Regions from separate parts of the Homo sapiens genome. Here all the other regions are linked to region 1. Evidence: promoter capture Hi-C in 16 types of primary human blood cells and fetal thymus (Javierre and others, 2016). All regions are on one chromosome and are shown on one strand. The core of a region is centred on a gene start or on the middle of the fragment in contact, and the rest is flanking DNA. Distances in the headings are between cores, read along the strand shown.

Evidence for each region. The method cuts DNA at HindIII sites, captures the fragments that hold promoters and counts their contacts. A CHiCAGO score of 5 or more calls a contact.
Region 2: a contact is called between a fragment that was not itself captured here and the fragment with the promoter of OSER1 in region 1, in 8 of 17 cell types (M2 macrophages, monocytes, total B cells and 5 more). The highest score is 12.0, in M2 macrophages.
Region 3: a fragment that was not itself captured here is called in contact with the fragment with the promoter of OSER1 in region 1 in 1 of 17 cell types (fetal thymus); the score reaches 5.1 in fetal thymus.
Region 4: a contact is called between a fragment that was not itself captured here and the fragment with the promoter of OSER1 in region 1, in 1 of 17 cell types (total B cells). The highest score is 5.6, in total B cells.
Region 5: a contact is called between a fragment that was not itself captured here and the fragment with the promoter of OSER1 in region 1, in 1 of 17 cell types (neutrophils). The highest score is 5.4, in neutrophils.

The regions. Positions count from the first base shown.
Region 1 is chr20:44,208,241-44,212,586 of GRCh38, reverse strand. OSER1 (oxidative stress responsive serine rich 1) reads left to right here and starts at 1,816. Exons shown (of 4, transcript NM_016470.8): 1 at 1,816-1,891. OSER1-DT (OSER1 divergent transcript) reads right to left here and starts at 1,627. Exons shown (of 3, transcript NR_038339.2): 1 at 1,510-1,627. RefSeq lists silencers at 1,414-1,862, 2,058-2,127 and an enhancer at 1,787-2,406. The HindIII fragment of the contact is 3,146 bases long and covers 771-3,916 here.
Region 2 is chr20:43,458,478-43,462,823 of GRCh38, reverse strand. It overlaps SRSF6 (serine and arginine rich splicing factor 6), which reads right to left. Exons shown (of 6, transcript NM_006275.6): 2 at 4,315-4,346; 3 at 2,929-3,053; 4 at 2,583-2,791; 5 at 2,226-2,309; 6 at 1-2,121. The coding sequence ends at 1,761. Among named protein-coding and RNA genes, the nearest start is that of SRSF6, 2.8 kb to the right of the region's middle. RefSeq lists a silencer at 4,142-4,346 and an enhancer at 4,183-4,346. The HindIII fragment of the contact is 2,503 bases long and covers 1,314-3,816 here.
Region 3 is chr20:44,960,291-44,964,636 of GRCh38, reverse strand. TOMM34 (translocase of outer mitochondrial membrane 34) reads left to right here and starts at 4,240. Exons shown (of 7, transcript NM_006809.5): 1 at 4,240-4,346. The coding sequence starts at 4,304. STK4-DT (STK4 divergent transcript) reads left to right here. Exons shown (of 3, transcript NR_038341.1): 3 at 1-843. RefSeq lists a silencer at 3,982-4,061 and an enhancer at 4,292-4,346. The HindIII fragment of the contact is 749 bases long and covers 2,722-3,470 here.
Region 4 is chr20:44,906,253-44,909,889 of GRCh38, reverse strand. It overlaps YWHAB (tyrosine 3-monooxygenase/tryptophan 5-monooxygenase activation protein beta), which reads right to left. Exons shown (of 6, transcript NM_139323.4): 6 at 1,358-3,508. The coding sequence ends at 3,452. Among named protein-coding and RNA genes, the nearest start is that of PABPC1L, 2.0 kb to the left of the region's middle. The HindIII fragment of the contact is 4,218 bases long and covers 279-3,637 here.
Region 5 is chr20:43,578,436-43,582,781 of GRCh38, reverse strand. It overlaps SGK2 (serum/glucocorticoid regulated kinase 2), which reads right to left. Exons shown (of 13, transcript NM_170693.3): 12 at 2,721-2,810. Among named protein-coding and RNA genes, the nearest start is that of IFT52, 10 kb to the left of the region's middle. The HindIII fragment of the contact is 4,480 bases long and covers 1-4,053 here.

The DNA of each region.
Region 1 (4,346 bases), core at 567-3,066:
GCGCCACCATGCCCAGCCAATTTTTCATATTTTTAGTAGAGAAAGGGTTTCGCCATGTTGGCCAGGCTGGTCTCAAACTCCTGACCTCAAGTGATCCACCCGCCTCGGCCTCCCAAAGTGCTGGGATTATAGGCATGAGCTACCGTGCCAGGCCTTCTCAAGGATATATGAGATTTTATCTTAAGTTATATTTTGAAGTGGCAGCTTAAAAAGACATGTTTGGTTTTGATACATTTCACTTGGCAAGGTCTGAGAAAATAAATACATCATATTTCCCGCTTTTTCTTGTCCAAGAGATGTTGAGAAGGGCAGTTTAAATCCTGACTTACTAGCACTGTGAGACAGGACAAAGGCAGCTAGAACAAGTTATCTGATCTCTAACATAATCTAATGCTATCTAACTAGCATCATTAGGTTACAATGAACAGTTTTCTTTCAACCGGTCAGTTACTGAGCCTCTGGTATGAACGACGAGAATTTAAAATGTTTTATCCAGGGCCAACATCATGCTTCATGTTTAACAACGTTATACAATAAATTGTTAGATTTCATTTACAGACATAGGCCAGGCATTCCAAAGCCTGGCTGTAGTTAAGCTGGACACAGTTAAACCATCTTCGGCAGCCTATCTAGTTGACTACAACTAAGGTATTGGGGAATGACGGTGGATGGGGCCAGTTTTGGTTCAGGGAAAAACCCTCACTCTAGGGGTGGGCCACAATCAACGCCATCCAACTCAATTGCGCAAAATCATCTGTTCTCACGAAGCTTTGAGCAGTGCAGACGTGGAGCTGGAGATTGGCAGGCGAGGAGAGGCACAGCTAGATCAGCAGAACCAGTCCTGGTGATGGAGCGGGTGGCAGCTGTTGCACAGATCACCTTTTCCCGCCTACCATCTGAGCAACATTCAGAATCAGAAAAATGTAAAGAATCCTAAAATTCATCTCCTTTGGTGAACTGCCTAAATCTTTTTGCAAAATTTGGTGTGTAGGTGCATTTCTTTGGCAAGAGGATCTACAGTTCTCACCAGATTCTCAAAGGAGTCTACGCCTGAAAACACGAGATTCACCGATAAGGTTCAACTTCCTCACTTACTAGATGGAAAACTGAGAGGCCCAAAGGAGGAAAAGCAGTTGCCTCAAGACAAACAGCAGAGATATCAAAACCGAAGGCATTTCAATTCAATTCTAATTCTGGCTTCACACTATTGACCCTGGCCACGTCCAATACCTCTTCACTTCTCTGCAGGACCTAAAAGATCACCAGGAGGCGAGGGCTGGTGTCCGAGTCCCGGAGAGGTCGCAGGCAGTCCAGATTCTAGCATCACAGAAACTCTGGCCAAGCGCTCAGCCGGGGATTGTCTGCCATAAAGACCCCCGCACCCTGTCCTCGCCCCCGCCCCGTGGAATTCCTCTGCATAGGTGACTCCACGTAGAGGACCGAGCGCAAGGAGATCCCGGGGCGGTGGAGGCAGAGGACTACTGTGAAGAATGACGCCTACTCACTCACCTAACAGAGAGGAGGAAGCAGGCACGCCCCAAAAGCGGGTCGGGAGCAAATCCACGCCACTGGGAGGAGGCAAACCGAAGAATAACAGGAAATTACGTAAGGCGCACGTGCTTCTGAGGGGGGCGGGTGCGGGGCGTTGGAGAGGCGCGGCCGCCGCCCTGCGTCTGCGCAGTCGTCGGCTGCCGCGCTGCCGAGTCACTGGGGTGGGAGGAGCATAAGCAGGGGGAGGGGTGCATGCCGGAGTGCGCAGGCGCAACGCGACTCCCGAGGCGCGGGCCGCCCCCTTGGCTGGTTTGGATCCGGGTCAGTCGGGTGCCGAGATTTGGGAGAGACGCTCTGAACTGACTGCCCCGCATCACCGGAGCGTCCCAGCTGCGAGGAGGTAAGTGCCCTGACGTGACGGGGAGGGGCCGCAGCACTGCGTCTCAGCTTCCACTGCCGGTCTGGCCGCGGGCGGTTTTCCCCGGGCCCGCCCGCCTTGGGTCGCGTCGTCTCCCGACGCCTCCTGCCTGGGCCGGGCCTGGGCCTCTCCGCGCCCCCTTATCTGCCGCGGCCTGTGCCTGCTGGAGCTCCGAGCTCCACGCTCTCTCCCCTTCCCGCCTTCCCGTCCTCCCGCGGTCCCCCGCCCCGTCTCGCTCCTCCGCCGTCTCCCGCCCAGCGGCAGCTTCCCCTTTTCGCCCTCCTTGGCCGCCCTTTGCCCCTTCCAGTCCTTTCTCTCTCGCCTCGGAGCCCCATTCTCTTTGGCTACCTCTTCGGCCCCACTCCTTTCTTCTCCCGCATCCCTTGTGCCTCGCTCCGACTCCAGCCTCTCGTTCTGACCCCAGGAATCTCCCGAGGAGCGCAACTTCACAGCTGGAGACCCCGGGCGGGCAGTGCCCCTGGACAGCTCCCTGCTTGGCGTTGTCCCCACACTCCAAGCCCCGTCCTACCCCTCTGGGTTCTGACTAGGAATTTTCCTCCGTTCATGTTTAACCGCGACAGGCACAGACTCTGGGTGAAAAGAAAGAACTTTGTGCTTTGGCTGCAGCGCTGCGAGTATAAAGGGATGAGTGGGTTGCACGGAGAGGTGTGAATGTGCTTTTTGTCCTGGGGGCCGATTGTTTCCTCCCGGTCTAGTTTGCCTCTTAGAGTTGCTGGGTTTGGTTTTCTTCCCCATACTCTACGCTTTCTGGTGGTCTGGGAGTTTCGAAATCTTTAATGTTGTGATGACAACGCTTACCCGCGCATCCCTTCTTGATCGTTCTTAGGTCTTCTCAGGGGCCTGGAAGTGTAGACCTAGGCTTGGGATTCAAGGAGGTCTTGGTTAAAACGGCAAGATGTAAATAAGATTGTGACGCATCCATTTTGTTGAAAGAAAAAACCAGGAATTTGGCCTTTTGATGGAGGAACTTAGAAGAACTTTGTAATTTTTGTAAGGTTGTGGAAAATCCGAGGCAAAGTTAAATTGCCTGGTGTGATTTGACTTTAACTTCGAATAGGCTTTTTAAAGTTTCATCTCTTTGGAGATTGTTCAACTTCACGAGTTCACTGCAGTGAAAACGCCAAGACTGTCTCCCACAAATTTAATATTAATGAAGAAAGGCAAGCCAATTATATCTGTTGTCCGGAGTTAGTTGTACAGCCCTTTCTTTGAATGGGGATCTGGGGATGCAGAGGAGCATAATGAGCCTTTTATAATTACAAACATGCTCTTCTCTAGCTCTTAAGGTTATGCCTAACGCTCATTTGCTCTTGGCTAAAATAACTGAGAAAAAAAGTGAGTAGTAAAAAAATGCTGGAAGTCTGAAAATGGTTTAGACAGAACTTCATTCCTGAAGTTTTAGTCTGTAGCCAGATTTTAATTCTGGCCTGTTTTGGTTTTTAGATGATAGATCTTTTAGTGTGTCAACAGGAATGTAAAGTTTGTATTAACATCTAGGGTGATCACCTGCCATGCTATTAAGTCAGCATGGTATAATTAAAAGTTACATATGTAGGTTCAGAGCCTCTTAGCACAGTGTTACATTGTAAGCTCTTGGAGGGCAGGAATGAGATTCTAGTCCTTACGGAAATGGAGTTTGGGCTTCTATCCCTAGCATTCATTCTAGTGCCATGCACGTGGTAGGAATTCTGTAAATATTTGTGAAAGAAATGAATTTCTGCCTGTAGGGTTCAGCAGTGTATACTTAAATGTGATGTGTACGTAAATGCTGACTGATTTCCAGAGAGGGCTAAAGAGGACTTGGGGGGCGGTCTGCGGGTTGGGGAGATTGGCTCAGATGATTTATGAACTCGGTAAGAGCTGAACATTGACTAACGGATCATAAGGTAATTGAGGAACATTGTAAGTCAAACTTCAATTTAGTTCTACCAGCAGGAAGGATTTGTTTACAACCTGCAATAGTACTCTTTTAGATGATGTGAAGCTTTGAAAATATTGAAATAAGTGATTGCTCACCTCTCCCCCCAGGTATATAGGAATTGATTGTGTATTTGGGGGATCCTACCCTAAACTGAGAATTAGAGACTAGTGAAGCATGGGATTGTGTGGATAATGTTTCTTCATGTTTATGTACTTAAATAAACCAGCAAAATATACGTCGAGAATGTATCTAAATTATTTTTTTGTCCTAAGAAGTTGAGGTGCAGGCTGGCTGAATTTTTTTTTTTTTTTTTAGTAGCTGAATTCTTTTGAGACTGTTTTCAGTGTTCCCCAGAGAGCTCTGCCTAAAATACCTTAACTTCCGCAAATAAGTAAAGTGAAAAGTCCTGATTCCTTGCCTCTTTATTTTGCGCTGGTACTACAATAATATAATGGTTACTTTATATCAAACATTATGACACCTTGACCTTTGGAA
Region 2 (4,346 bases), core at 1,316-3,815, 750 kb after region 1:
TTAAATAAAGTATCAAAGAAAATAAGATAATGGAAGAAGCATCCGCCTTTTGGGGCACTATATTCCTAAGGTTGGGCTTTAAGATTTTTTAACAGGAAACCCAGGAATTTCTGAAAAACAAGGCCTTTTTCACATTACCAAGAACTCACAGCTACTCTGTGAATGCCCTAGATATTTGACTCAAATTTTTCACTCAATCTTATTAGGTATATTTCTGGATTATTTGAATCTACAAACCAACCCTAGAATATCATGCTTTCCAGTCACACCTGTGGCACAATGAGCAGTGTACGACCATGCCCCATCACAATCCAACCCTTGGTACCCTACATTGTGACACCTCCTAGAAAGGTATTAAAGCTGAGCCAATTAATCTATATTTTGATTTCAGACTAAGATTAATAAATGCTTTTAAATAAAGTAACTTTTAAGGTATCTGAACAAAGGGATGTAAGGTTAATTCACTTCTCAAACTGCAATTTCAACTCATCAGGCTTATGGATGTATGGACTAATTGCTAACCTAGTAACTCCTACAAATTTGCAGTATTCAAATTTGGTTTCCACAGTACTCATTACACTTTACTCGTAATAAAGTACAAAAGTTTTGCGTTTACCCATTTCACTGTTTTTCAAACCAATTACACAAAGCATTAAAATTTACAAGTATGATCTAACCAATTATCAAATAATCCCACTAACTACAAAGGGGACTGACTACTGGGTGGAACTTAACTGGCAACTGACTTTACTGAGATTAAGTGCCTGTTAAACATAATGATCTTTCAGCAGAAAATGCAGTATGTGCTTTTACACTTTGAATAAACTCAATTTCAGAACAAAAAGAGGCTACTTCCATTTCCACATGACAAACATTAAAGACAACTGAACCACTCTCAACACTAATTATGCTGAGAACTTCCAGAAAGTGGATTCTCTAAACAAGATCCCAAGTATTAGGAGCTATTTCTTAAATAGTTTAAATTTGCCTTTGAAAAAAGTTCCATTACTTAAAAGTATTAATTTAAGCAAAATCATGGAACACATTGACTAAAAAATACCTTTTATTTTTACTCAACTTGTTAAAGGGGCAGATAAAGACTTTGGCAAATTTGATTAACTGCACAAAATAATGTTATCCAAACTGAGTAATTTATTGCTGGTCTGAGGCTTGCCTTGTTTACACTTAAGTAGAATTTACGTTGTTTCCACAAATGGCAGATATCAACATTTAAAGGAATTTAATAGTGACCTATTCAATAAGGCAATCATCTTGGTAGCAAACTTTTATTTAAATCTTACATAACTCAAGCTTTATAAAAAGCCAACATAATTGAAAATTGGGTTCTCCCTCTAAAGCCTTAAGTATTCAAAGCTCAAAACAGTTAATTTAAAAATAAGCAAACAAATAAAACAAAAAAACCCTGCCAGCAGATCCTGCTGAAATACTAAAAAAAAAAAAAAAAAAAAAAAAAAAAAAAAAAAAACAACACTAAATGAGCTTAATCTTTACAAAAGTTACGTTAGCTCAAAAGCTATAAAATCAAAGTTATCTTAATTCTACAAAGAAGGGAGAGGGTCTTCATGCCACCATTTCCTTAGAGCCTCATCTTTTTCATCCAATTTGGCCACAAATCAAATTTCTGTGTGCCCCTGTTTTCAAGAGATTCCTCTTGCAGAAGAGGCCAAGTATAAACATGGAAGAGTAACTGCCTAAGTAGGAAAGTGTTCCATAATAATGTGCAAACAAGGAGTTCTGAGTTAATCTCTGGAACTCGACCTGGACCTTGATCTTGACTTTGAGCGAGATCTAGAACGGGATCTTGAAGTAGCTCTTTTTGGTGGAGGGGACACAGAACGGGCCTTTGAGGGTGGAACAGGTAGCGGCGAATTGGAACGGGACTGGCTCCTTGATCTGGATTTTGACTTTATATCACCCTTTCCATTTTCTTTAGGGGATCGGGACCGAGACCTGCTTCGAGATTTCTCATACTCATCCTTAGATCTGCTTCGAGAATGTGAATGGGAGCCCCGATCAGACTTGGGCTTAGATTTGCTCTTTGATCTAGATTTCCTGCCTTTTGATCGAGAACGTGATCGACCTTTGCTCCGCGACCTGGAACTGGACAAGGAAAGACCGATTTTCTCAATACTTAGTGAGAATGTACACATACTCCATAAACAAGTACGGTAATATTCACAGTGACTCAACACAACGTTATTTACCGGGAGCGACTTTTTGAGATACTTCGAGATCTACTGCGGCTGCTCCTGCGACTCCTACTTCGTGACCGTCTTCTAGATCGAGACCTATTAGGAGAAAAACAATGAAGTCTTAATCCCAATCCAACTTAAATACATCCGTGCCATCTGGCAAAAATAGATAAGCCAAAGAATAATGTTTTTCTTTACTACGAAATTAAATACACTGTTCAAAACATCCAGAAAAGAACGCAATGATGCACAGCCAAAACAAACTAAAAGCTGGCTTTAATTCAAGTAGGCAACAATTGACATCACTCAATTACTCCCTTTTTATTGGCAAATATTGTTTCCTTCCCACAGTGTCCTTCAACAAGTTACCTGGATCTGCTTCCAGAGTAAGATCGCCTATGGCTTGTGCGTGGCTTATCTTCAATAAGCCTAATATTTCTGCCATTTATTTCTGTGCCATCCAGTTTGTCCAAAGCACGCTTCATGTCAGAGTAGGAGCGAAACTCAATTACACCCTCATTTGTTCGTTCCTTGTGGGCATCCGCATAGGTTACTTCACCTGCTTGTCGCATAAAATCCTGAAAGACAAGATTGGTCAGACTCGGAAATCTTAAAACATCTATATACCATAATAAATTCCCAGAAATAAGAATATAAAAGGAGTTTACTTTAAAGCATTAGTCATATCATTTCTATCTTGAATTACAAAACATACCTTTAAATCTTGCCAACTGCACCGACTAGAAAGATTTTCTACAATAAGCCTGTATTCTGTACGAACAGGTGGTCCGTATTTGTCTCTGCCAGATGTTCTCCGACTGCTGTATCCACCTCCACCACCTTTATCACATGAAGGGAACAATTAGATGCCTTGTAATGATAAAAACGCATAATGTCTTTGAAAGTTAGTACAAACATATCAACTTTTATTTACTGGAGTAGGACTTTGCTATTATATTGCTAAACCTTCGACACATTTGTGATTTGCCATAAAATTAAATTAAGGGCAAGTCAAATAGACTAAATCCAACTAAACCTCTCCTACAATCTGTTAGAGAGTGACTGCTCCTTTATTCGATTTACCTCGCTAAGTTTTATTTTACAGAACATTGTAAAATATAAAACTTAACTGATTACATGCATTTCTACATTTTACAAAAATGTTTACTAGTTTTACACTAAGTACTTACATCACAGTGTGAGGTTTTTGGTGGTGGTTTGGCCACAAAACACGCAAGGTAACAGTCACCTAGTTCAGATTAACCAGTTTTGTCTAACCCTTGGAATCCTCACCATCACCCTGCGTCTAATGGCAAAAGGCTGCTGTCGTCATGGCTTCCGGTAAGGTCAGCCAAAGGGTCATAGGGCAAGGGTCACACAATGTATGGAAAAGCCAAGGCCAATCAGGAAAGGCAGTCATCTTAGCCTCAGTGGACACAGCCTCAGCCCCATTGGTCACTTTCAAATTGAAACATCAAGGACTTGTTAAAAAGTTTGAATTCAACATGCAACAATTTAAACATCAAACATTTAACATAACCAAAAATCCCCCCAACCTCCTCCCAATAACATGCCCCAATTAGTTCAAATACAGCATAAAGCTTATTTAGATCTACTTTGTGGTACAATACCACATTACTTAAAAATAGTACATTCTTTGGCCCCCATCAAGTTCCATAGCTTTAAGACCTATACTTTATGCTCCTCCCCTTCCCCGTCCCCCGCGCCCCCTACCCCACCTCCACCCGAGCCTGCCCCCGAACCTCTAACTAATGCACTGATAGGTAAGTAAGGAGAATACAACAAATACAGCCACCCCTTACTTCCTCTGTGGGAAGAACCCGTGACAGTGCTGACAAGGGGCCAGAAGAAGCCACCCACCTCCCAACTTGGCAAATAAACAAAACCAAACACCCAAACCCAATCCCCGCGCTCCGGCGTCCCATGGCTGCCCCGGGCAGACGTGAAGGCAGCGGGGCTCGGGGACACCCAAGTCAAACGACCCCCGGCCCTCGCGCCTGCCCGGGCTGGGAGGCCCCACCCCACCCACCCCCGCCCCCAGGGTCCCCAAGGGCGCGGAGCGCGCGGGGGTGGGACTCACTGCGGCTTCCGTAGCTGTAGCCGTCGCGATCG
Region 3 (4,346 bases), core at 1,847-4,346, 750 kb before region 1:
TGACCTGGGAACAACAAGGGTTTGAGCTGCATGGGTCCACCAATACAACCCTTGTTTTGTTTTGTTTTGTTTTCAATAAATACAGTCAGCCCTCTCTATCAGAGGGTTCCACATCCACAATGAAACATGGTTGGAAAATACAGTATGGGATGTGAAACCTGTGTATAGGGTGGGCTGACTTTTCGTTTCCATAGGTTCTGCAGGGTCAACTATAGTACATGAGTATACTCACATTTTAGTATCCTAATAGATCCTCAAACCAACACCTGGCAGAAAATGGGGAACAATTGCATAACAGTATTCAAGGGACTGGGTATGATGGCTTGCACCTGTAATCCCAGCACTTTTGGAGGCCAAGGCAGAACAGGAGTTCGAGACCAGCCTGGGCAATATGGTGAAACCCCTTTTCTACAAAAAACTTAGCCAAGCATGGCATATTTGTGTAATGCCATTTGCATGACCCACATGGTCACCCTGGACCCCGTGGATCAGGCCCTGCCTGGTGCCACCACCGCCACTTCTGTGCCAGGCCCCCAGTGTGATGCAAGTTGCATGATGCTCTTTGCTGTAGTGCCTTTTAATGGCATAGCTTTGGCAGGTTTGGAGATGTTCAGAATAGGCAAATCCTGTGGTGGATTTGTGGTTGTCTAAGGCCCTGGTGGAAGGGAGCATAGGTGAATTGGAGGGGATGATTAAAAGGTGTGAGATTTCATTTTGGGGTGATGAAAATGTTCTAAAATTGGTTGTAGTAATGGTTATACAACTCTGAATATACTAAAAGGCATTGAATTGTACACTTTCAATATGTGAGTTATATCTCAATAAAGCTATTTTACAAAAAAAGACACCTCTTCCCAGAAGACTTCTCTGTTCCCTTGTCCCTCCCCTGACCCTCTCATCTGTCCCTCCTTCAAATTATTTCAGTACTGTTTTTATCAGTCCTGGCATTTATAGGAAGCACTGCAGGAAGGGATTTCCAGGTATTGACTGCTGTGTAAGAAACCACCCCAAAGTTTATAGGCATAGAACAACAGTCTTTTTTTCTTCTCAGAAATCTACAATTTGAGCATGGCTCAGCAGGAAGGCTCATCTCTGTTTATGGTGTCAATCAGGATCAATCAGCCCTGTCCAAAAGGCATTTCACACAGCTGACAGGTTGGTGCTAGCTGTTGGCTGGAAGCTCACTTGGGTCTGAAGGCTAGGGGCGTCTCCATTTTTCTTGAGCTTCCTCACAAAATAAAGCCTGGGTTCTAAAGCATGTTCCCGAGGGAGAGCCAAGTGGGATGCTGCAGTGCCTTTTAGTGGAAGATACTTAATGTCATTACCACTGTGGAGGGGGGCCACAAAGGCCCACCCAGTTTCAAGGAGAAGGGATGCAGACTCCACCTCCTCATAGGGCAGTGGCAAGGGTCTGGAAGAGCTTGGGGAACCAGAAATATTATTGGGGCCATTTTTGGAAAATAAAATTTGCCACAGCTACACTTATCCGATAAACCACTCAGGAAATATTCAGCTGCAAGCAAGTGAAAACATCTAAATGTTGGCTTAAAGCACCATGGCATTTACTGTTTGTTTTGAGACAGAGTCTCGCCGTATTGCCCAGGATGGACCACAGCAGCCCAGTGATCTGGGCTCACTGGATTCAAGCAATTCTCCTGCCTCAGCCTCCTGAGTAGCTGGGATTACAGGCGCATGCCACCACGCCCAGCTACTGTTTGTATTTTTAGTAGAGATGGGGTTTCACCATGTTGGCCAGGTTGGTCTCAAACTCCTGACTTCAAGTGATCCGTCCACCTCGGCCTCCCAAAGAGCTGGGATTACAGCTGTGAGCCACCACACCTTGCCTTTATTGTTTATTAATAAGCTAATAAGTCAGCAGTTGATTCAATGACTCAGCAATATCTATTTCATTTTTTCCCCTCCCATCCTACTCAGCATGTTGGCTTTTCATACTTGTGTTTATTGCCTCATGGTTGCAAAATGACTGCCACACCTCCAGGTATCATATCCTTAACCCAGCACTACCCAAAGCAGAAAAAGAGCAAGAATGGCTACTTGACCCAGTACCTCTCTGTTATGGGGAGGGAAACCTTTCCCATAAACACTCAGCAGACTCTTTTTTTTTTTTTTTTTTTTTTTTGAGACGGAGTGTTGCTCTGTCGCCCAGGCTGGAGTGCAGCAGTGCAATCTCAGCTCACTGCAACCTCCACCTCCCGGGTTCAAGCTATTCTCCTGCCTCAGCCTCCTGAGTAGCTGGGACTACAGGTGCGTGCCACCACCCCAGCTAATTTTTTGTATTATTAGTAGAGATGGGGTTTCACTGTGTTAGCCAGGATGGTCTCGATTTCCTGCCTTGTGATCCACCCGCCTCGGCCTCCCAAAGTGCTAGGACTACAGATGTGAGCCACTGCGACCAGCCTCAGACTCCCTTTTATCTCATTGCCCAGATCAGCATCACATGTGCATCCCTTGATGAATCACTGGCAAGAGAAAATGACATTTTTCTAATTGGCTTAGAGCAATCCTGATTCACTTCCCCAGGCTGGGAGAGTCTCAGGCAAAATTCAGGCTCCTGGAAGCAAAGATGGAAGTCACTGAGTAGCCAGCCAGCAGCATGGGCCTCATCTGGTTTTCCCACCACAGTCAGTGTTCATCCTTGGTCGGGGCAGAGGGCAAGGGGAAGCATTTCAGATGGAACAGCCATCCAGCCCTCAGAAAGCTTATAGTCTGGTGGAGTTAAGTGTATGCAGATCATTATAACTGAATTCCTGAAGGTAGAGACTAGATCTTTATCAATCAATGACTTTTATTGGATGCCAGACCCTATTAGGGTCTTGGATAAACAAAGATAAAAAGGACCCACTTCCTGCCATTAAAGACCTCGCAGTGTTTAAGGAAAACTACAAACTGGCAATCAAAGGGTGACTAATGCAAAGTTAGGGATAAAGCTAGAGACCAATAGGGAGCAAAGGGAGCATAGTGGGGGGTGGGGAGGGGGCTGGAAGCAGGAAAGGCTTTCAGAGAAGATGATGTTTGAATGGAATGTTATAAGTTAATTCAGGATTAGGCAGGAGAAAAAGTATTTAGAAAAAAAAATCCAGGAGAAGGAGATAACAAGCAAAGGCTAGGAAGCAAGAATTTAGTGTGTGTAGATAGCAATGCGTGGGACATAGAGTCGTCAGATGAGGCTGGAGATAAATTGAAGTCACACTCTGTGAAAGATCTTCATCCATTCTGAAAGCTGATCATACGAATTGGGTCATTCTTGTCATATCCAACTAAGACAGAATTGAAAAGCCAGGGGAACAAATACTCAGGGCATATAACATTGCTCCAAAAAAGTAATTTTTTGCAAGCCTGGCTGCTAAAACTGCCTGCTGTAACCTAAAACCAGTTTTATCTAATAGCTACTGAAACAGCCTGCTACAATTCTGAGTTTTATCCACCACTATCACTTACCAATCAAAGCTTGCCAGCTCCCCAAGAAGCTGATAAACCCCCACTTTACTAGTGCCTGTAAACTTCCTTGAAGAGCAATATGTAACATTTCTGTTTTATAAAAATCTCCAAACCTTCTCTTTGTTCTTCTGACATACCAAAGACAACCTGGTCTGTGTGTAAGCCCTGAATTGCAATTCTTGATTGCCAAATAAAATATTTAAACTTTAGAGATTCATCTCTATATGTTGACTTTGACACCATCAATCCACCTGTGCATTAATTTATTAAATAAATATCTATAGAGCACTAGGTACCAGGTACTTTCTAGCCTTGGAACCTTTGCACTTACCATCCCTCTGGCTGGAACAGCATTCCCTAAATCTTGTCTGGTCTCAGCTCAACTATTACCCCCTGAGAAAGGCCTTCCTTCATCCCCTTATTTAAAATAGCCCACACGTGGTCACTTTCCATTGCATTATCCTGTTTTGTTTTCCTTACAGCACTAATCACATGAAATGAGAGTCTTCGTTTGCTTATCAGTTAATTGCCTGTGGGGACCCCACTAGGACATAATCTCCCTGATAGCGGGGCCAGCCTCCTTCCCTGCGTCATCCACGGCGTTCTAGCAACTCAGGGAGCCCAGAGCATGCTGCCGCCCCGCGTGCAAGGGAGCCTAAGTTCCAAACCGAGCACGCGCAGAGGGCGGGACGCTCCGGGCCTCCAGGTCTCGCAGGCCCCGCCCCCTCGCCGCGGGTTCGCTGTTGGGCGGAGATATTCGCCGCCGGCGCTTGCGCCCGGAAGGTGTGCCGCACCACACGGGGGAGGAAGGAAGGAGCTCCCAACTCGCCGGCCTGGCCACGGGATGGCCCCCAAATTCCCAGACTCTGTGGAGGAGCTCCGCGCCG
Region 4 (3,637 bases), core at 1,138-3,637, 700 kb before region 1:
GGCGGAAAAAGCCTTCAACCTGGCCTTGAGCAGGGCTGCTGGGACTTGAGTGGAGCTCTCAAAACCCCCAGCTCTTTTGAAAGAGCCGAGGACTGGGACGGAAAGGACGCAGGGGACTGAGTTCTAACCCCGGAACAGATGATCATCTTTCTGAACCCGTTTCCCTTCTCTGTAAAATGGGAATGATTCCCTCCTGACAAGAATGAAAGGAGACCCAAACCGCGCTTTTTGCGTTTCACACACAAACGGAATTCCGAACAGGCCACTGTTTCAAAGCTTGTGTAGAGAATTTTACCCTGCTCCATTGAAGATGTCTTCCTCCAGAGAGCCTGATCCAGTCCCACCGTTTCGCACCAAGGATGGAAATGGCTTTGAGACATGAGAACTGGAGACCACTAAGGCCTTTCTTGGTACTGGCTCATATTACCAAGACCCCTTTTCCTGGGATATTCCCTGTCCCTCTGCTAAGCCATTACACATCCATTACACCAGGGAGGTTCACTGAGTTACTTGTGGCTCAGCCTAAATGCGGACAATTGGGAACTAATAGCAGAGCAAGACCTAAACAGAGCAAGACTGTGAATCTGAGCTTGCAGCGTCAATCTGTGGTATAGGGACATTAAAAACAACACAAAAACAAAACAACTACTCCACTGAGCACCAATACTTCACTTTTCCTCTGATAGGACTTTCCTGGTCTCACTGATCCAACAGAGCAGGTAGGCCCCCACTGACTTTTGGTTGAGTGTGGCTTCAACAGGTGGAACAGCTCCTAAACTAGGGACAGAAGGTGCCCATCTGGCTGTCCAGCCTCAGAGTAGCAAGGAAGCACTAATTCTAATCTTGGGCTAAAAAAGACCCCTCTATCCTGATATTTTTCTCTCCTTGTGGTAATGTGGATGTTTTCAGAAGGGGCAAATCCTGTGAGGAACCAGCTCTGCAGGCCACCATACAGTGTGAGGACAGGTGAGACGCCAGCTTGGTGATGACCAAGACTTATGCAACCATAGGTTACCTATTTCACTGGCTTGGTTGTATCTCAGAGTTAAAAAATGGGGAAGGGATGGTGGGCTCGAATACAATGCAAAATAACTGTCCATACCAAATCTTAGAAGTCACTAAAGAGGACCTAATACCTGCATGGTTTGTTGTGGAAGGTAGAGAGGTATCAAGTAACGGGTGTAAAGAGGCTGTTTAATTAATGGTAATTTCTTCCCCTGGATAACACCTTGACTTCTGGTCCTAAATAATGAAATAAAACTGTTTGCCTATTTTTAAAGAAAACAGAGTTAAAAATAAGTGTGATCAGAATAGTTAGCTAGGTCTGGTAACAACAGAGATGGTGGTGACACATCAATTCACAGGCAACTAACTGATAAAATTTTTATTTCACTTTTGAATTTTTACACTTTTCCTGATTATTCTGTGTAAGGTGAAACTAGAACTGTTTAAAAGACATACACAAATCTAGTACATCAATAACCGGGGATTTTTCTTTTTTGCTATACTATTTTCACAACCACGGGTGTGCTTGCTAGGCAATATAACCATCACAGAAGCAAACGTTAGGCAGAATACTGGTAAGAAAAAACAAAGCAAGAAAAGAGCTACCAGATATACAGACAGGCTTGGTTCCACATTCACTACTGCATTTTCAAGCGCCAAGTATTAACTGCACATTTTTGTTCAGCTAGAAAGGAGGGATTTTTTTTTTTGTTTTTTTCTTTTTTTTTGGTTTGTTTTAAATCAGTGCATAAATTTTTCTTTTCTCATTTCAGCAGATGGACAAACAGATGGACTCTACAGCTAAGTGGAATATCAAAGGTAGAGGGGTGATTCTGTGAGACTGATAGGCCTGACTATTCTCAATTCTCCCCACTGCAGTGTTCACGCAACTTCCCTGAATATAGGGTCTCCTTAAACACATCTGAGCACTGACCTGGATGAGTGCACTTGGGAGACCTGGTGACAGGCACAAAAAGCATGATCAGGGCTAGCCTCAATACAGGGAGAAATCATGGATATTTAAAAATACTTTTTTGATTCAGATTCCGGTATGACTGAAGAGCAACACCGTGTTGAGAACTGGAGGAAGACAGGGTTCTGGTGCCAGAAGCTCTTCTCCAATCTTTAAAGCCAGGCTTGCTCACCAAGGTGCTCAGTAATGTCTCTCACCCCTGCCCATATATAGCATTAAAAAGTGAACAAAAGACAGATAAAGATAGAATTCAAAAAGGAAAAAAAGTAAGGAAGCAGAGGGACAGAAACTTAGAAGAGAAAACCAAGGTCAACAGTCAAAAAGGATGGTGGGAAAGAATGTTTAGATTTCAAAATTTAAAAGCCCCGAGCTAGGAAGAACCTGAAAACTGAGTACTCCTCAAGTGAAAGGCCATCTCTACAGAACATCATTCCTTTTTTTGTTTTTTGTTTTCTTTTTTGGAGATGAGGTCTCGCTATGTTGCCCAGGCTGGAGTGCAGTTATTCACAGGTGCAACCACAGGGCACTGCAGCTTTAAACTCCTGGGCTCAAGCGATCCTCCTGCCTCAGCCTCCCAAATAGTTGGGACTAGATGCACGCACCACCACGCCTGACTCAGGACATTATTCTTAAAGGTATTATCCAGGAAACAGATAAGGTCATTCATAAAACACACGGCTTTTTTTCTTTAGCTCAGTGTTAACAATGAAAGTAGATTCCACTATTGAAGCACAAGTTGCAAATTGGTAACATAGTGAACATATTGCTGTAGGAAAGGGGGTTCAGTGTGGTGTGTTATATGAGCACTTGAACTTTTCAAGGTGTCATAAGCCAGTTATCTGCCACAAAGAATTTCCATTTCAGGATTCGAGTTTCCTCAGAGGAAGACACTGTGGACATTTGTGGTCATGAACTTTTAAGTGGCAACAGCCCAAACAGGTCAAGTGTCTTTAAGTCCCGAACAACGGCAGCATTACTGTGAATTACCATTCAACTCAAATGCCAAATGATGTGTGTCTCACTCCAAGTTCCAGCATCACAATATAATCTCTATAACTTTCTGTACAACTTTACAATGGAATTGTATTTCAATGATTATTTTGATATCAGATTAAACCTTCCAAAAAGTTACACATAATTCAGGTCTATTTTTTCTACCAGTAAGAGTTCTGCTAAATTACAAAACCCCATAATCACAGTGTTCAGTTTTTAAAAAATTAAACACACAGTAATCCTGTCAATGTTAATCAAAATCAAAACTTCGGAATGCCGTGGCATTTATGTGACCAATCTGAGTTTTAGATACAAATACCAGCTGTTTATCCCATGAACCATTTTTCCTAGGCTGAGGCTGTGAAAAATCGAAAGTCGACGTACGATTCTCTTTTTTTTTTTTTTTTTTTTTTTATCGCACAAGGGATATATGTTGAGGGTACAGAGTGACACTGAACAGATCACAAAGCACGAGAAACATTAGTTCTCTCCCTCCCCAGCGTCTCCTTCGTCTCCCTGGTTTTCCGATGTCCACAGCTGCAAGAGAAAGGAAGTATAATCAAAGCAGGGCTACTAAAAGTTCCCTAGGTAAGTGGCCCAGTATGTATAATCTTATCTCACTCGACAGTTTAAAATTATTCCTGTGTCACTGCAGACAGGGATGAT
Region 5 (4,346 bases), core at 564-3,063, 630 kb after region 1:
TGGAGAGGCAGAGGTTGCAGTGAGCTGAGATCGTGCCACTGCACTCCAGCCTGGGCAACAGAGCAAGACTCTATCTCAAAAATATAAAAATAAAAGCCAGGCGCGATGGCTCATGCCTGTAATCCCAGCACTTTGGGAGGCTGTGGTGGGTAGATCACTTGAGGTCAGGAGTTCAAGACCAGCCTGGCCAACATAGTAAAACCCCATCTCTACTAAAAATACAAAAATTAGCCAGGTGTGGTGGCATATGCCTGTAGTCCCAGCCACTCGGGAGGCTGAGGCAGGAGAATTGCTTGAACCAAGAAGACAGAGGTTGCCATGAGCTGAGATCGTGCCACTGCACTCCAGCCTGGGCAACAAAGTGAGACTCCACCTCAATAAAATAAAATAAAATAAAAATAAAAATAAAAATGAAAATAAAAACTGGCCAGGTGTGGTGGCTCACACCTGTTATCCCAGCACTTTGGGAAGCTGAGGGGGTGGATCACTTGAGCCCAGGAGTTCAAGATCAGCCTGGGCTACATAGAAAAACATCATCTGTACAAAAAATACAAATTAGCTAGGTGTGGTGGCACCCACCTCCCAACTACTCAGGAGGCTGAGGTACTCAGGAGGCTGAGGTAGGAGGATGGCTTGACCCCAGGAGGTGGAGGTTGCAATAGGCAGAGATCATGCCACTGCACATCAGCCTGGGTGATAGAGTGAGACCCTGTCTCAAAAAATAAATAAATTTAAAAAACTAACCATCTTTACTATAAGACAAAGAAATATAAATTAAAACAATTAAGAGATGCTGTTTTTTACTTACCAAATTTGCAAAGTAAAAAACAATAACCACACATGCTTCAGAGTGCAAGCAAGATGAGAACTCTCCAGCAAGTGCCGCTGGTAGGAAGTAGATGGTTCTCCCTTCCACACAGTGAAAAGGTGGTGTGAATCAACAACCTAAAAATGGCCAGGTGCGGTGGCTCACGCCTGTAATCCCAGCACTTTGGGAGGCCAAGGCGAGTGGATCACTCGGGGCCAGGAGTTCGAGACCAGCCTGGCCAATATGGTGAAACCCCGTTTCTACTGAAAATGCAAAAATTAGCCAGGCGTGGTGGCGCATGCCTATAATCACAGCTACTCGGGAGGCTGAGACATGAGAATTGCTTGAACCTGAGATCGTGCCACTGCACTCCAACATGGGCGATCGAACGAGACTCTGTCTCAAAAAAATAAATAAATAAAATAAAAATAAAAAAAGAATCTAAAAAACATTAGCATTGGGAATTCCCCATATGGAATCCATCTTAAAGAAATGACCAGAATTCTGGGCAAAGACATATACTTAAAGCTGTTCATCAGCACATCATGATAAAGAAAAAACATAGTAACAACCATAAGATTGCCATTAGGAACATGGGTAAGTAAATTATGTTACCAACATAAGATGGAAATATTATGCAGCCACTAAAAATTGTATTTATAAAATTTTTTATGACATGAGGAAATTATAACATAGTTTTTAGCCAAAAAAGGAGGAAGATAATATAGATGAATAAACACACACACACATATAGATACTATAAAGTAGGACCTAATTAGGTTAAAAACAAAACAAAACAGGCCAGGCACGGTGGCTCACGCCTGTAATCCCAGCACTTTGGGAGGCCGAGGCGGGCGGATCACGAGGTCAGGAGATCGAGACCATCCTGGCTAACATGGTGAAACCCCATCTCTGCTAAAAATACAAAAAATTAGCCGGGCATGGTGGTGGGCGCCTGTAGTCCCAGCTACTCAGGAGGCTGAGGCAGAAGAATGGCATGAACCCAGGAGGCAGAGCTTACAGTGAGCCGAGATTGTGCCACTGCACTCCAGCCTGGGCAACAGAGTGAGACTCCATCTCAAGAAAAAAAACAAAACAAAACAAACAAAAAAAAACACATAGAAAAGTGACTGGAAGGAAATATGCCAGTGGTTTCCCTTAAGTAGTGAGATAATAAGCATTTCGCCACTGCTACTTTAAACTTTTCTGTTTTACATACATTCCCTTTTTTTTTTTTTTTTTTTTTGAGATGAAGTCTCCCTCTGTTGCCTACGCTGGAGTGCAATGGCATGATCTTGGCTCACTGTGACCCTTGCCTCCCAGGTTCAAGCTATTCTCCCACCTCAGCCTCCCGAGTAGCAGGGATTACAGGTGTGCACCACCATGTCTGGCTAATTTTTGTATTTTTAGTAAAGATGGGGTTTCACTATGTTGGCTACACTGGTCTTAAACTCCTGACCTCAAGTGATCTACCCGCCTCAGCCTCCCAAAGTGCTGATACTACAGTCGTGAGCCACTGTGCCTGGCCAGTGTTTTACATACTTTTTATAAGGATATATGTCATTTTTATTATCAGGAAAAAGTCTATAAATAGAAAAGGATAAAATATCTCTAAAGGGCTTGGCCCTATGTGGGTGTGCTGTGCGAAACAGAGCACTTCACAAACTGTAAAAGTCTCTGCAGCCAGAGTTATTTATTGGTGCTCAAGACAAAGGAGCAGCAACATGGCTGTTTATCCAAGAGCTGCACCTGTAGTCAGGCCCAGTTCTGTCTCTAACTGACTGTGTAGCCTAGGACAAATGACTGAGCTTCTTGGACCCCCAAGTTTTCCATCTAGATAAGGAGAGTTGGCAAGCATAGCAAGCTCCCCCAGCCCCGGAAATCCAGAGTCTAGAATGCTGTGACCTCTTACCACATTTGGGTTGAAGGGTGGAGTTAGCCTCTTGTGGTACAGGTCATCCCAGTTTATGGGGCTGAAGAATACATGGTTCTTAATCTCAAGCTGCAGGAAGTGCAGAAAAAAGGTTCTGGTTAGAAGTAGCCCTCCCCATGGGTGCTCTCACCTCACCCCCACATCCTCCAGAGCTCCACAAGCAACTGGCTGTCAACTGGAAATTAACTTGCAGTTCTGGCTAGTTTCCTGGGACAAGAGAGTTTTGCAGCCAAGCCTCTCCCATCATCCAGAATCCAAACCCTTCTCCCCACTACAGCATCTGTTTATTCCAAAACTATTTACTGAGCATCTTCTCTGGGCACCGACCCTTTGCTAGGCTTTGGGGGTGTCAGTGAATAATACATCAGAATCTGCTCTGGGGGTGGGGGAGTACCAGTGGGAGCTTGGAGACCCCTCCCCTCACTCTGCTTCAGTACATCTTGAGTTTTCCAGTATGCAAACCAGAGAAGTAGACTAAATCAATTCACTAGGGAAGGTTTGAAAAATAAAGCCCCCAAGAAGACCTTCAGATTCCCAGACACCCAGATTTTAGGACTCAGCCCTGGTCATGATTCACCACCTTTCCTAATCAAAATCAACATTGGCACCAACTTCTTTCCATCACATCCTCTATCTGTGTTTCTCAAATAATTATTCTCCACCTCCCTATATCAGGAACCCCAGTGGGCTGGTTAACAACCCAGATCCAAAATATCTCCGTAAGAGGCTGGGTGCAGTGGCTCACGCTGGTAGTGCCAGCACTTTGGGAGGTCAAGGCAGGTGAATCACCTGAGGTCAGGAGTTCATGACCAACCTGGTCAACATGGTTGACCTCGTCTCTACAAAAATAGAAAAATTAGCCAGGCGTGGTGGTGTGTGCCTGTAATCCTAGCTACTTGGGAGGCTGAGGCAGGAGAATCACTTGAACCCGGGAGGCAGAGGTTGCAGTGAGCCGAGATCATGCCACTGCACTCCAGCCTGGGCAACAGAGCAAGACTCTGTCTCAAAAAAAAAAAAAAAAAAAAAAAAGCCTCCGAAAGAATGCCCAAGAAATTGGTAACATTGGTTGCCTCTGAATTGAGGAACTGGGTGGCTGGAAGGACTTTTTCTAGATACTCTTTTGTACCCTTTGAATTTTGATCTATGTGAATGTATAACTTATTTTAAGAGTCATACATATTTTTTTAAGATACAAATTTTTGCTTGGAACAGGAGACATCTTCACGGAAGCCCCTATTCTTTAAGCTGGCCAGGAATAGGCAGCAGATGCCCTAACTGTTGTTACGATTTACAGTAACTGGAATGTAAAGCTTTTGGTACACTTAAAAAGCACTTATTGTGTGCCAGACACTGCTGAGAGTACTTTGCATACATTAATACTAATCCATTTGATCTTCAAAACAGCTGTGTTAGGTGCTGTTATTACAATGGGGAAACTGCGGCTCACAGAAATTAAGCAACATGTCCAAGGTCCTGTAACTAGTAAGCAGTGAAGGAGGGATCTGCTGAACCCAGGTAGTTTGCCTCATAGTCCATTCATCTTTTTTTTTTGGAGATAGAGTCTCACTCTGTTGCCGAGGCTGGAGTACAGTGGTGCCCATCTCA